Regions from separate parts of the Homo sapiens genome. Here regions 2 and 3 are each linked to region 1. Evidence: promoter capture Hi-C in human tissues and cell types (Jung and others, 2019). All regions are on one chromosome and are shown on one strand. Each heading gives the region's core, a stretch centred on a gene start or on the middle of the fragment in contact. The rest is flanking DNA. Distances are from core to core; before and after follow the strand shown. Region 1 holds the start of PAM16 (presequence translocase associated motor 16). Region 2 overlaps CREBBP (CREB binding lysine acetyltransferase). Region 3 overlaps CREBBP (CREB binding lysine acetyltransferase).

What was found. Contacts are between HindIII fragments. The study calls those that stand out against the background at their distance.
Region 2: a fragment that was not itself captured here is called in contact with the fragment with the promoter of PAM16 in region 1 in 1 of the 25 tissues and cell types used here (dorsolateral prefrontal cortex).
Region 3: a contact is called between a fragment that was not itself captured here and the fragment with the promoter of PAM16 in region 1, in 2 of the 25 tissues and cell types used here (mesenchymal stem cells and mesendoderm cells).

The regions. Positions count from the first base shown.
Region 1 is chr16:4,349,917-4,352,787 of GRCh38, reverse strand. It overlaps PAM16 (presequence translocase associated motor 16), which reads left to right and starts at 1,467. Exons shown (of 5, transcript NM_016069.11): 1 at 1,467-1,556. The coding sequence starts at 1,554. All of the region lies in intron 27 of CORO7-PAM16 (CORO7-PAM16 readthrough), which reads left to right. The HindIII fragment of the contact is 27,496 bases long and covers 1-2,871 here.
Region 2 is chr16:3,787,373-3,790,243 of GRCh38, reverse strand. All of the region lies in intron 5 of CREBBP (CREB binding lysine acetyltransferase), which reads left to right. Among named protein-coding and RNA genes, the nearest start is that of TRAP1, 71 kb to the right of the region's middle. RefSeq lists enhancers at 1,959-2,258, 2,329-2,388. The HindIII fragment of the contact is 10,000 bases long and covers 1-2,871 here.
Region 3 is chr16:3,811,611-3,814,481 of GRCh38, reverse strand. All of the region lies in intron 2 of CREBBP (CREB binding lysine acetyltransferase), which reads left to right. Among named protein-coding and RNA genes, the nearest start is that of CREBBP, 68 kb to the left of the region's middle. The HindIII fragment of the contact is 6,097 bases long and covers 1-2,871 here.

The DNA of each region.
Region 1 (2,871 bases), core at 218-2,717:
GTTGGGCACAGTGTCACATGCCTATAATCCCAGCACTTTGGGAGGCTGTGGCGGGTGGATCATTTGAGACCAGTAGTTCAAGACCAGCCTGGCCAACATGGTGAAACCCTGTCTCTACTAAAAATTCAAAAATTAATGGGGCATGGTGGTCCATGCCTGTAATCCCAGCTACTCAGGAGGCTAAAGCATGAGCATCGCCTGAACCTGGGAGGTGGAGGTTGCAGTGAGGCAGGATTGTGCCACTGGACTCCAGCCTGGGCGACAGGGTGAGACCCTGTCTCAAAATGATAAATAAAATAAATAAGTAAATTATGTGGTATGGTAGAGGGTGATCAGAGTCTTGGAAGAAAAATAGAGACAAGAAGGGAGGATAAGCCAGTCACAAAAGGCTGCACATTGTATGATTCAATTTCTTCTTTTTTTTCATTTTTCATTTTTACCTTTTTTTTTTTTTTTTTTTTTTTTGAGGCAGGGCCTGACTCTGTCACCCAGGCTGGAGTGCAGTGATCACAGCTCACTGCAGCCTGTACCTCCCGGGCTCAAGAGATCCACCACTCAGCCTCCCAAGTAGCTGGGATTACAGGCACCTGCCACCACACCCGGCTAATTTTTGTATTTGTAGAGATGGGGTTTCACCATGTTGCCCAGCCTGGCCTTGAGTTCCTGACCTCAAGCGATCCACCTCGGCCTCCCAAAGTTTTGAGATTGCAGGCATGAGCCACCACGCCTGGCTTGTATGATTCCATTTCTATGAAATGTCCGGAACCTGTGAATCCATAGAGAGAAAAATGAGTGGTTGACAGGGGCTGGGGGAGGGGGCTGGGGAGTGACTAATGGGTGATGAAAACGTTCTGGAACTAATAGTGGTGACAGTGGCACAGCTCTGTGAATAAAAGGCATTGGACTGTGCACTTGAAAATCATGAAATCTACAGTGTATGGATTATATCTCAATAAAGCTGTTACTTTTTTCATTCATGGAGGGCAAGTCACGGCGTTTTAAGGGGTCCAGGTGGGCCTCATTGAGGTGACATTTGAGCAAAGATTTGAAGAAGGGAACGAGCTTCTCAGGCAGGAGGAATGTGGATGAAACCTATTTTGAAGTTTTCTATTTTCTAAAGTATTTTTGAGAATTTAGCATCCTACTCCATATTATGTTCATTGATTTCATATAATGTTGCATTCCCAAATATTTTGGCAAAATCAAGGGCAGAAATCGCCCCACGTCTGACCGATGTGCTTAGCTGCTCCAGCGCACTGGGGTAAGCACGCGGGCAATTGAGACTCCCGGTAACGCCCCTTGCCCTCCCAAGCCCGCCCCCAGTTATCCAGAGCCCGACGCAGGCTCAGTCAAACCCCGCCTCCGACCCCGCCCCGAGCCGCTAAGACGCTCCCGGTGGCCCGCCCTTAGACTGAGGCAATGCGCATGCCCAGCGCCGTATCGCGCACGCGCTCTCTGCGGCTTTCCTTGACCTCTGACCCGCCGACCACGCTTGATCCCCGGCCGCGGGGCCAGGAAGTCGGAGTTTGAGCCCCGGAGGCAGAGCGGCTGCCATGGTGAGCCCCGAGTCGGGCGCTACCGGGGAGGGGAAGCCGAGTCGGGCCGGGGGCCGGGGGCCGGGCGGCGAGCTCCGGGCTGGGCGGCGGGCGCCGTGCGCCCCCTGCGTGCCCGGCGGGAAGCATGGTCTGGGGGCGTTGCACCCGGGGGAATCGAGGCCGGCAGCGGCGGCACCGGCGGCCTCAGGGCCAGGGAAAACCGTCTGCCTGGAAGAGGCCGGGCAAACGTGGTCGCGCTGTGCCTAGCCCGCGTGTGAGCGAGCAGCCGTGGGCAGCGGTGGAGCATGAGTCTGGCTGGTGAGCGCCTCCCCTGCCCTGGAACCTTACAGCGCTGCAGAGTCGATGTTGCTGCCCTGTTGTTATCCCCAGTGGAAAGCTGGCCTTTCCAGGGAAGTGGCTGACCTGGGACTTGAACTAGGCCCCGAGACACCGAGCACGGAGCGTTTGTGTGATATCGTTGGCACGTAGAGCCAGTCAACAGACCTGCGCCACACTGTCAGGTCACCTAGGGTAGCTTTAAAAGTGCAGGTTTGGCTGGGCGCGGTGGCTCACGCCTGTAATCCCAGCACTCTGGGAGGCCGAGGCGGCGGATCACGAGGTCAGGAGTTCGAGACCAGCCTGGCCAACATGATGAAACCCGGTCTCCACCAAAAAATTTAAAAAATTAGCCGGGTGGGGTGGTGCGCGCCTGTAGTCCAAGCTACCCGGGAGGCTGAGGCAGGACAGACGCTTGAACCCGCGAGACAGAGGTTGCAATGAGCCGAGATCCGCCAGTGCACTCTAGCCTGGGCGACAGGGTGAGACTGCGTCTCAAAAAAAAAATTATATATATGTATTATATATACCGTATACATTTATGTATACTACATATTATTATGTTATATATATTTTTATATATCATGTATTTTATATATATATATACACACACACACACATAATATATACATATGTTAGCCAGGCATGGTGGCACACACCTGTAATCCCAGCTGCTTGGGAAGTTGAGGCGCCAGTATCGCTTGAACCCAGGAGGCAGAGGCTGCAGTGAACCAAGATTGTGCCACTGCACTCCAGTCTGGGCGACAGGGCAAAACTCTCTCAAAAAGAAAAAGAGGGGGAAAAAAAAAGTTCAGGTTCTTGAGCTCTATCCCTGGAGGTTCTGCACACGTAAGTTCCCCAAGTGACTCTGTTGCAGCTGGTTCGGGGAGCCACTTCTTAACTAACATAGTAATAAGGATAATGTAACAGCTAACGGCGTACAAGTGCCAGCCCCTGAGCTAAGGCTTTATGTAGAGTCTCTCATTTAGTGTTTATGAAG
Region 2 (2,871 bases), core at 195-2,694, 560 kb after region 1:
ATATTTGGGACAGTAGTTCTAATGGAATACAGTCTGTTTTTCCTCCCACATTACTGTAAAAGTTTTTTCTTTAGTATATTGTGATGGCTAAATTTCTTGTGTTTTAGGGCACATTTCAGTAATAGGCTCTTTAAGTGCCAAAATATTCATTGTCAAGTTTGTAGTTATACAATATTCTATGAATAATGAGCTAGAATTTTATTCTTAACTTTAATTTGGGGGTGTGGCTTTTTGAGGATCTTTTGTTTTTAGTACATACTACCATGACAGTTGTAAACTTTGGTGATTTCTCTTTTTAAGAAACACTTATGTGGTTTTTGTTTTAAAAGAAAAAAGAAGCGTATGTGGTTTTTTTTTTTTAAACCATCCTTATAACGGCCTGAGTGTTGTGAAAATTGATTCTGTGCATGCTCTCTCAAGTGGTAAACCACAGGTTTTCTACTAGTCAGAATGTAAGATATTACCAGGATGATTTTATAAAGTCACAAGGAAGATTTAGATTAACTTGCTGCAAGGTTTTGGTAGTTTTTTTTTACAAAAGTATGATTGACAAGGTTTCAGCAATATCCTTTTTGTAAATTTTATTGTTTTTTCTCTTCTCCCAAAGCAAATTATGCTTATCGTGTGTGAACTCTTGAGTTAGGAACCCAGAGAGGAAAATGTGAATCTGACCCTACGTTGGCTTAAGGTTGGGTTTTGAAGACAATATATATGTTAAAAATAACGTAAGGGTGACCTCCCTCAAAGGACCGAGGTAGAGACAAGTCAGTGCAATCAGCATTCTTTTCGAGGAGAATTGGAGCGCACCTGACTACTTTGTAGAGAAAGGTGGGACTTGGTGGAGCCCAGTGCAAACAGAATAACAAAGGAAGAACATTTCAGACAGTGGGGACAGTGTCTGCACAGTGCACAGCTTGTGAGGGCATGCATTTGACTGGACTGGGGTTCCTGTGCAAACGAGGTGAACAGAAAGGTGGACTGTGATGAGCTCCTGGAAGCCTCAGGGACTCTGCCGAGACCCACCTGTGCTCGCTCTGTGGAGACTGCCTTAGGGGCCCCGGGACTCTGCTTTTTAGGCAGTGTTTCCCACAGGCCAGCGCTGGTCTTACCTGATGCACACTTCCTTGGTCAGCACATGCTCCACTCTCTTAACTTCTGTGATTAATGTCTCTACTGAGAGAACCTTCCAGAATCACCTGTGGCGCTAATCTGAGGTTCTTTGAAATGAAGCCCAGACCATTGATTACCTTTTTGGCCTGTGTTGAGTTTTGTTTGGTTGGTTGGTTTGTTTTGAGACGGAGTCTTGCTCTGTCACCCAGACTGGCATGCAGTGGCATAGCCAAGTCTCACTGCAGCCTCAACCTCTCGGGCTCAAGCAGTCATTCCACTTCAGCCTCCTGAGTACCTGGGACTGCAGGCATCTGCCACCATACCTGGCTAATTTTTGTATTTTTTGTAGAGATGGGGTTTCACCATGTTGCTCAGGCTTGTCTCGAACTCCTGAGCTCAAGTGATCTTCCCACCTTGACCTCCCAAAAGTCCTGGGATTAGAGGCGTGAGCCACCGCGCCTGGCCTCATTCGATTTTTCCTTGAATTGTTTTTTAAAGATTCTGTAATCACTGATCTCGAGTTAACCATCCCTTATAGCAATATTCAATTTTTTTTGAATAATTAGGACTTGCCAAGATAAGTATCTTATGTCAGTCCTGGCATCTGACCTCCAGTAAATTCAGTGCACAGAGTGGCATGGTTGACTGGGCTTTGGGACCCGTGAGCAGGTTCCCCTCTTGGGGCTTATGCTGCCTCACTTGTGAAGTTCTTGCTGCTCAAAGTGTAGGCCTCAGGGAAGCCATAGAGGTGCTCCCAGGTTGTAAGCAATAAAGAAATTGGGCCCCCATTTGAGACCTCTTATATTAAAACCTGCATTTTTATAAAAATCCTGGGTGATTAGTGTGCACATTAAAATCTGAGATGCACTGCTCTGGATGCCTTGGAAGACCAGGTATCTGGGCCAGTGCTGGTGAGAGGGTTTGAGTCATTCTCTGAGAGAGAGACCAGGGGTTTTCCAACCTAGAGTCCCCCAGGGACTGTTGAAGCAAGTGTGCAGGGTCGGCCCCAGAGCCAGCCTAATGCACGCACTGTCCCGGCTGCGTCAGCCATGGCCCCAGCTGCTGCCCGGCATCTCCATGAGTGTAGCTCCCACTGCTTCACCTGGCAACATGTTCCATCTGTAGGTGCCTCAGATTGTTTAAAACACCTCCTTTTGGCCGGACGCAGTGGCTAACGTCTGTAATCCTTGCACTTTGGGAGGCTGAGTGAGACAGGCGGGTTGCCTGAGCTCATGTTCAACACCAGCCTGAGCAACACAGTGAAACCCCGTCTCTACTAAAATACAAATAATTAGCTGGGCATGGCAGCATGCGCCTGTAGTCCCAGCTACTCGGTATCCTGAGGTGGGAGGCTGAGGCAGGAGAATGACTTGATGAACCCGGGAGGCAGAGGTTGCAGTGAGCCAAGATCGCACCACTGCACTCCAGCCTGGGCGACAGAGCAAGACTACGTCTCAAACAAAACAAAACAAAACAAAAAACCAAAACAAAACAAAAAAAAAAACCTCCTTTTTTTATATGGAGTCAAGATCTCCGTCCTTTGAACTGCCACTCATCGAATAGCCCATCAGGTGCCCAGTGAGTGTGTGTGGAGCAGGCCCTTTGTTCACTTGAGGGCCCTTCAGAGATTTTCACCTCTTTTGACAGACTGTAGTGGGATGGGGGACAGCAAGGAGCAGAATCTGAAGGCTGTAGAGAGAATGGTGGGCTTGATTGACCCTGACTTAAGCACCAAAGGGTCGTGGGTGATGTGTTTCATCT
Region 3 (2,871 bases), core at 168-2,667, 540 kb after region 1:
GAGTTTGAGGCCAGCGTGGCCAACATGGTAAAACCCTGTCTCTACTAAAAAATACAAAAATTTGCTGGGTGTGGTGGTGCATGCCTGTGAACTCAACTACTTGGGAGGCTGAGACACGAGAATTGCTTGAATCTGGGAGGCGGAGGTTGCAGGGAGCTGAAATCATGCCACTGCATTCCAGCCTAGGCAACAGAACGAGACTCTGTCTCAAACACACACACACACACACACACACACACACACACACACACACACACACACACACAGAACGAGACTCTGTCTCAAACACACACACACACACACACACACACACACACTAAACAACATTGACCAGTTAGAAAAGGGCCCCAGGCCAGGCAAGTATTACCCATCTGATCACACACTCATACTCACCCTGGCAGGGCTATCTTAGGAAAATTGTCAAAATATCTGGGAAGTTTTGGAAATAAACTTTCTGAAGCAAGTCAGGTGAACTTTGAGGTCCACAGAGCACACTGGCCTCTTGGTACTTAGGTCCCCTCTTCTCTGGAGCCAGGGTGCCTGGGCATTTGGTGTGGAAGGAAGATGGTTACCTGTTCCCTTCCCCACCCCTTCAGCTGTCACCCACTTTGGTTTGTCAATGCTGGGCCTAATTAATTAGAAACTTCCAAAAGACGTTGATTTTTTGTTTGTTTGTTTGTCAAATTGGTTGACATAAGGTGTGAGCTCCGTGACAAGTGGGAAATGCATCTACGCAGCCTCAGAACTGGGCTTGGCTCATACCAGGCACTTGGTGAATACCAGTTGACTTCGAGGATGAATTGATCGAGGGAAAATGAGTGTGGGTGTTCTGTCATATTTTGTCCGAAGTCAGAAATTTAGGAACTGGGGGAAAAAAAACTATATTTTTTGTTGTTGTTCGTGTTGTTGTATTCAAATTCTAGGCTTCTAAGAACAATGTTTCAGCGGTTTGGTTATATGTAATAAGACAAATTCTGAGAGTAGTAAGTGTTCCATGGAATTAATTTAGTATAGTGGTTTCTGAAAATATAAATTCCTGCTTCAATTAAGTTTCAGATGACAGTTGAAGGAAGCTTCTTGCAAATCAGAAATGTGCTTAATATTTATCGAGCTACCATCTTGCCTAGATTAAGTCATTTGAACTCGAAATTGAGTCTGGTTTGTGGACTTGCAGAAGAATTAGTGTCTCAGTTCACTTAAGTAGAGCACCTAGTGGTGACAAGAATGTGATTGCTTTCCAAAAGGTGAGAAATGTCACCTAGGAGGACTACATGGGGAAGGAAATCACCTGCGTATGAAATGCACAGAGCTAGAACTTTCTGGTTATACTCCTTTGGTTTTTATTTGTGTTTCTGTACAGGCATTTCAGCAGAAAGGGCCAGTTGTGTTGAGTGTTGATTTGTTTGTAGCCTAGACTTTTAGAGCTGAAAGAAATAATACGATCCATCTTGTTCAAGACACTCATCTTACAGGCGAGGAGTTTGAAGTCCATAGAAGGAATGTTAAGTTACCCAGAGTGGACATGCTGGCGTGGCAGTCACCAGGTGAGGCTGATGGAGAGAACTGAGCTATGATTTCTTAACTGGAAACTCACCCCTGGGAGGTTTTCCCTATGCGGGGACCTTCCCAGTCCATCAAACTGACCACTACTCCAGAAATACAGAACACACAATAGACAGAAGGTGGAATATTAGAGCTTTGCAAAAAAGCAAAGACAGGCAGCCCAAGCATCCAGTTTCTTAATTAGTCGTTGTTTCTCCACAGGGAGAAAGATAAGCACTGGGATATTGCCATGGCAATTCCTGAATTGACCTGTGGAGGCTGGAGCTGGGGGTCATCAGGGAACTTGGCCCACATCTGTTGATGGAAGGAATTCCAGTTGGTTGCAGGCCCTCACGGAAGCATAGCTGAGGGTTCCTCTTTCCCATTCCTGCCTTTATCTAGTATATATTTGATTTCAGTGCACTTTAATTTTATAAAAAACTTTATTATGGAAAATTTTAGGCCGGGCGCAGTGGCTCACACCTGTAATCCCAGTACATTGGGAGGCCAAGGTGGGCGGATCACCTGAGGTCAGGAGTTCAAGACCAGCTTGGCCAACATGATGAAACTTTGTCTCTACTAAAAATACAAAAATTAGCTGGGTGTGATGGCACGAGCCCATAATCCCAGCTACTCAGGAGGCTGAGGCAGGAGAATTGCTTGAACCTGGGAGAGGGAGGTTTCAGTGAGCCGAGATCACGCCACTGCACTCCAGCCTGGGTGACAGAGTGACACACTCTCAAAAAATATAAATAAATACATAAATTTTACACCTGTACAGTGGTAGAGAGGATACTATAACCTCTCTGTACCCATCGCCTACTGCTTGGTTAGTGATTATCAGTACCTTACCAGGCTCTCTCCATCTATGCCCTTTTCCTGCCACCTCCTCCTGCCCAGTGGATTAGAGGTGACCCTTAAGCAACTCAGGGGTTAAGGGTGCTGACCCTGCCAGTCGAAAATCTGCTTGTAACCTTTTGACTCCATAAAAGTTTAACTACTACTAATCCCCTGCTGTTGATCAGAAGCCTTACCAATAGCATACACATTTGCTTAACACAAATTTCATGTTTTATGTGTTATATACTGTATCTTTACAGTGAAGTAAGCTAGAGAAAAGAAAACGTTATTAGGAAAACCGTAAGGGGCCGGGCACGGTGGCTCATGCCTGTAATCCGAGCACTTTGGGAGGCCAAGGTGGATGGATCACCTGAGGTCAGGAGTTTGAGAACAGCCTGGCCAGCATGATGAAACCGTGTCTCTACTAAAAATACAAAAAAATTAGCCGGACCTGGTGGCACGTGCCTGTAGTACCAGCTACTCAGGAGG